Regions from separate parts of the Homo sapiens genome. Here region 1 is linked to region 2. Evidence: promoter capture Hi-C in 16 types of primary human blood cells and fetal thymus (Javierre and others, 2016). All regions are on one chromosome and are shown on one strand. The core of a region is centred on a gene start or on the middle of the fragment in contact, and the rest is flanking DNA. Distances in the headings are between cores, read along the strand shown. Region 1 has its middle 64 kb from the start of RBBP6. Region 2 holds the start of SLC5A11 (solute carrier family 5 member 11).

What was found. The method cuts DNA at HindIII sites, captures the fragments that hold promoters and counts their contacts. A CHiCAGO score of 5 or more calls a contact.
Region 1: a fragment that was not itself captured here is called in contact with the fragment with the promoter of SLC5A11 in region 2 in 1 of 17 cell types (endothelial precursors); the score reaches 5.2 in endothelial precursors.

What each region holds. Positions count from the first base shown.
Region 1 is chr16:24,602,453-24,605,344 of GRCh38, reverse strand. No RefSeq gene overlaps it. Among named protein-coding and RNA genes, the nearest start is that of RBBP6, 64 kb to the right of the region's middle. The HindIII fragment of the contact is 1,222 bases long and covers 937-2,158 here.
Region 2 is chr16:24,844,527-24,847,604 of GRCh38, reverse strand. It overlaps SLC5A11 (solute carrier family 5 member 11), which reads right to left and starts at 1,642. Exons shown (of 17, transcript NM_001352248.3): 1 at 1,593-1,642; 2 at 1,167-1,373. The HindIII fragment of the contact is 4,984 bases long and covers 1,036-3,078 here.

The DNA of each region.
Region 1 (2,892 bases), core at 298-2,797, 240 kb after region 2:
GTGATGGCATGTGCCTGTAATATCAGCTACTCAGGAGGCTGAGGCAAGAGAATTGCTTGAAACGGGGGAAGGCAGAGGTTGCAGTGAGCAGAGATCATGCCGCTGCACTCCAACCTGGGAGACACAGCGAGACCATCTAAAAAAATTAATAATAATAATTTTTAAAAAGGGAAGAAAAAACCCCAGAAAACTAGAGAGCTAGGCATACGAGTTAACGCTGTATCCACCCTGGGGATTTAGTGCTTGGCAGGGACATGGCAGCCTTGGGAGGCTGGGTTGCAACTCCAAGCAGGTACAGGAGACAAAGTCTTGTGCCTGGGAGTGGAAACTTCCACATCAGCTTGGGACTCTTAAAAGTGCTGTATCCTCAGTGAAAATGTGCATGGTGGTAAATTTTATGTGTCACATTGACTAGCCACGGGGTGCCCAGATTAAACATTATTTCTAGATGTGTCTGTGAGAATGTTTCTGGATGAGATTAACATTTCAGTGGATGGACTCAGTAGAGAACATTGCCCACTTCAATGTGGGTGGAAATCATTCAATCTCAATGGAACAAAAGGGTTATCTGTGGTGGAGGAAGGAGGTGGAAGAAGGAGGAAATTTCCCCTTTTGCTTCCTGCCTGCCTTCTTGAGCTGGAACACCTCATCTCATCTTGTCCAGCCTCTGGACTGGGATTTACACCATTGGCTACCCTGGTTCTTAAGCTTTCAGACTTGGACCAAATTACACCCCAAGTTTCCCTGGATCTCCAGCTTGCAGAGAGCAGACTTGTGAGACTTCAGAGCCTCTATAATTGCATGAGCCAATTCCTCAGGATAAATCAATCTCTTTCTCTCATGCTGATTCTACTTCTTTGGAGAACCCTAACTAATACATGGTGAAACAAACAAACAAAAAAAGATCACCTTTAAGCCCAGAGAAACACGGAAGCTTGTGTGACTTGACCTGAATTCTGGGTCAAGGCAAAAAAAATACTCCCATGATAATTAATAACCAAGGCCTGTTCTCAAGTGGTTTTGATGTCTGAACATACATTACTTTTATGGCCCTGGAATACCAAAAATAAGAAATAACATAGAAAGAGAGGAGCCTCAGAGAGGCAAATATAAAAGTGATCTAGAGGTAAGTTCACTAAGCCCAGACCTCACAGAGTTCCCACAGATTATGTTCCCATTGCAGATGAGTTTATAATCCAAAATTATAAAACATGTTATAAATTACAAAGCACTAGGAGACAGAAGAAAGTGCAGGATTAGACTCCTATAAATTTCATATAATAAAATAATTGGATGGAGATTATTAATAAAACTTTATGCTTAACTTTTTAGAAAGAAGCAGTGCCTTTTGCTTCCAATTAAGATGACATAACAGAAACTGGGTATACTCTTTTCCCTGAAACAACAACAAACAAGATAAAATATATAAAACAACAGTTTTGGCCGGGCATGGTGGCTCACACCTCTAATCCCAGCACTTTGGGAGGCTGAGGCGGGCAGATCACTTGAGGTCAGGAGTTCGAGACCAGCCTGGTGAAACCTCGTCTCTATTAAAAATACAAAAAATTAGCCATGTATGGTGACTTTGCCTGCAGTCCCAGCTACTTGGGAGGCTGAGGCAGGAGAATTGCTTAAACCCGGGAGACGGAGGCTGCAGTGAGCTGAGATTGCGCCACTGCACTCCAGCCTGGGCGACAGAGAGAGACTTTGTCCCAAAACAACAACAACAACAACAACAACGACAACAACAACAACAACAACAACAGTATTTAAGACATTGGACATCAGATAACAAAGGGCAGGGATATATGAGAGAAGGGAAACAAACCAGGTGAGCTCTATGATTGCCCCATATTACTGCCTAGAGGAAGTTTCCAAATTGCAGTGCAGAGAGGTGGACTTCAAACTGAGGCTGGTGTTCCCCCTGAGATGAGGAGACAGAGCAGGGAGTCCAGGGAGGCCAAGGAAGACAGAGTTTGTAGGGCAGGTACTGGAGAGGAGAGAGCCGCACAGAGATCAAGATCTGCAGAGATGTCCCTCAAGTCTTCAGTGGAGTACAGATCATGACACGCATGTTAGAAAAAGACCTGACCAAAAGGATTAGAGGGCCACATATGGCCAGGAGTAATTTTTGCCCATTACCCTAGAATGCAAAGCTTCATAATTCACACAGCATCTATCAGGTAGGATACTCAGAAGTGTTTTACCTCCGTGGTGGGACCAAAATAGTCCTAGACTAAACCCAACTCTAGTCCAGCCAAACAAACTTTAAAAACAAACTTTGGGCCAGGTGCGGTGGCTCATGCCTATAATCCCAGCACTTTGGGAGGCCAAGGCAGGTGGATCACCTGAGGTTAGGAGTTCGAGATCAGCCTGGCTAACATGGTGAAACCCCATTTCTACTAAAAATACAAAAAATTAGCCGGGCATGGTGGCACGCACTTGTAACCCCAGCTATTCAAGAGGCAGAGGCAGGAGAATCTCTTGAACCCGGGAGGCGGCGGTTGCAGTGAGCTGAGATCATGCCATTGTACTCCAGCTTGGTTAACAAGAGTGAAACTCCATCTCAAACCAAAAACAAAACAAAACAAAACAAAAAACACTTTGGCCAGGCGCAGTGACTCCCGCCTGTAATCTCAGCACTTTGGGAGGCTGAGGTAGGAGGATCACTAGAACTCAGAAGTTTGAGGCCAGCCTACGCAACATGGTAAAACCCCTGTCTCTACAAAAAACCTAAAAATTACCTGGATGTGGCAGCATGTGCCTATAGTCCCAGCTACTCGGGAGACTAAGGTGGGAGGATTGCTTGAGCCCAGGAGTTCGAGACTGAAAGTGAACTGTGTTGGCGCCACTGCATTCCAGTCTGGGTGACAAGAGTGAGATCCTGTATCA
Region 2 (3,078 bases), core at 393-2,892:
GCGGGAGAATCGCTTGAGTTCAGGAGATTGAGACCAGCCAAGGCAACACAGGGAGACCCCATTTGTACAAAAAATAAAAATAAAAAAGTTAGCAGGGCATGCTGGTGAGCTATGATAGTACTACATTTCAGCCTGGGCAACACAGAGAGACCCTGTGAAAGAAAAGACAGAAAAGAAACGAGAGAGAGAGAGAACAGAAAACACACACAGAGAGAGAGAGGAGGCAAAGAAGGAAAGAAGGAAGGAGAAAGGGAAAGAAAGGAAGAAATAAATAATAAAAGAGAGAGAAGAAAGAAAGAAAGAAAGAAAAAAGGGAAAAGAAAGAGAAACAGAGAGGTGGGAGGGAGGGAAGGAAGGAAAGAAGGAAGGAGAAAGAAAGGGAAAGAAAGGAATAAGGAAAGAAATAAAAGAAAGAAGGAAAGAAAGAAAGAACAAAGAAAAGAAAGGAAAAGAAAGAAAAAGAAAGAAAGAGAAAAAGAAAGAAAGGAAAGAAAAAGAAAATCACTGATATTGTGGCTGAGCTCATGGCCACAGGAATTGAGTCTTGGCTTGGCCACTCACTATCTGTATTACCTTGAGCAAGTTATTTAATGACCCTTAGACTCTGTCCATGAATTAGGGGGTGCTGTACCTACCTTACAGGGTTTCTGTGTCAGTTAGATGAGATCCAGGCGTAAAGTTCTCTGCACGTGTCTGACACGTACCAGTGAAGACTTGTATTTGCCTTGTAGTTAACAGCAGCTGCAGTTGTAGTAAATACATTCCTATAGCTTTTTAATGCTTATGTGGATACATTTACCTTCGTTATCTCTGGGTAACACACCTGTGGGGTGGGTCAGCCTGAGGTTCATATTCCCATTTGACAGATAAGGAACCTGAGACTCGGTGAGGCAAAATGTTTGGCTCAATGTCCCTGACCTTGGTTAAGTGGAAGAGCTGGGACCCACGTACGGTGCTGCTGGCTGCCGGCTGCTGGCTTCATACCACCATGCCCACCCCACAAACACACTCCATTGTCCTGGTGTATGACAAGCTTTCTCTGCAGAGAGGGCTGAGCTTCCCCTGCCCCACAGGTGACAGCTGGAGTCCTTCTGCCAGCACCTGTCCCCAGACCAACTTCCCAGTTTGGAGAGTGGCTACCTGTTTGGGGGCAGGGGGTGTCTTACCTTATTCCAGATGCAGGGCTCACCTGCCCTGGGGGCTGTCAGTGGCTTCTAAGGCACTAGGAGGTGGCGGTGGTTGTAAGGAGGGAGATACCCGGGATCCTCTCTCTTTGCAGCCAAGAGCTTCCGGAGACAGCAGTGACCCTTCCTCCTATATGCCCGCTGCTGAGAGAGCCTCCAAGCGGGTCAAACTCCAAACTCCAGCCTCAGCTGCAGCGGGGATTAAAGGAAGCGTGAATGATCTCCCCAGGGCAGAAGAGAGAACGGGGCCCAGCCCAGGACCCTTGAACTCTGAGCAGGTGGGGAAGGTGACATGTCCCACGCTCTGCCCACACCGTCCTCCACCAGGGTCCTCACCTGCGTGGGGACCCATGGCATGGAGGGGTTGGGGAGACGCTGGAGCCCAAGGCACCATCCTGCTTCACTCACCCAGTCTTCCACTGTCCCGCCTCCACGCTGGGGACAGGCAGGCTTGGGACGAGCTGGAGGAAGGGGAGGGGAGGAAAAATGCTGGCGGCGGATGGAGGGGACAGAGGCAAAGTGCCAGGAGGGACGTCCAGCCACAGCCCTCACCGCAGTGGCAGCAACAGGAACAGCAACCATTGCTTGTGCAACCCCTTTCCATATACTCTTCAGACAGAGGCATGGCAAAGAACAGGTGTCTGCCTGAAGTCGAGAGTTCGAGACCAGCCTGACCAACATGGAGAAACCCCATCTCTACTAAAAATACAAAGTTAGCCGGGTATGGTGGTGCATGCCTGTGGTCCCAGCTACTCGGGAGGCTGAGGCAGGAGAATCACTTGAATCCGGGAGGCGGAGGTTGTGGTGAGCCGAGATTACACCATTGCACTCCAGCCTGGGCAACAAGAGCGAAAATCAGTCTCAAAAAAAGAAGAAGAAGAAGAAGAAGAGGTGTCTGAGGCCCTGAAAAACCGTCAGGAGTGACCGAGCCATGGCCAGGCGCCCACATCGGGCCCAGGACATCAGCGGGGCATAGCGAAGATTTCTGCCAGATGCTCAAAGCATCCAAAACTTTATTTACTTTTTATTTCTGAGACAGGATCTCACTCTGTCACCCAGGCTGGAGTGCAGTGGTGGCATCACAGCTTGCTGCAGGCTCATCCTCCTGGGCTCAAGTGATCCTCCCACCACAGCCTCCCGAGTAGCTGGGACTACAGGCGTGCACCACCACACCCAGCTAATTTTTTCATTTTTTTGGTAGAGAGAGAATCTTGCTATGTTGCCCAGGCTGGTCTCCAACTCCTGGGTTTAAGTGATCCTCCCACCTTGGCCTCCCAAAGTGCTGGGATTACAGGGGTCAAACACTGTGCCAGGCCAAATACCAAAACATTTTAAAAATAGTTACTAGTATTTGCAAACCAAGAGGCTTGAAACATAATTCTAGAATACTCACTTTTCTAGAACAACCTGAAGATCTGGCCTCACCAGGCCCCCATGGCCACAGGACAGCTGCTGACTGGGGAGGAGTCGTGGCCTCCCCATCTCACTCCTTCACTGGGCCTGCCAGGCTCTGGGGGGCCCTCAGCTGAGGCCCCTGTCCTGGCACCGAGTAGCCAGAAATAATAGCAGTGATGAACACGTGCCAGGCTCTAAGGGCACAACATGCCTTTACTCACTTGGTCTTTCCAACAACCCTCGAAGTTAGGTCCTGTTATCTCTATCTTACTGACGAGGTAACAGAGGTAGAGGAGATGAGTCATCGGCCCAGGATCACCCGGGTTGTAAGTGACACAGCAAGATTTCAGCCCAGGCCACCTGGCTCTAGAGTCCTGCAGGAGCAGTGGAGGGTGGCTTGACTGGATAAAGGGTGGCCTGGGTGAGCAAACACTGGGTGACTGACCAACACCAGTATGAATGGGGCCTTTGGGGGAGGGACCTGCCCTGGGGGACAGAT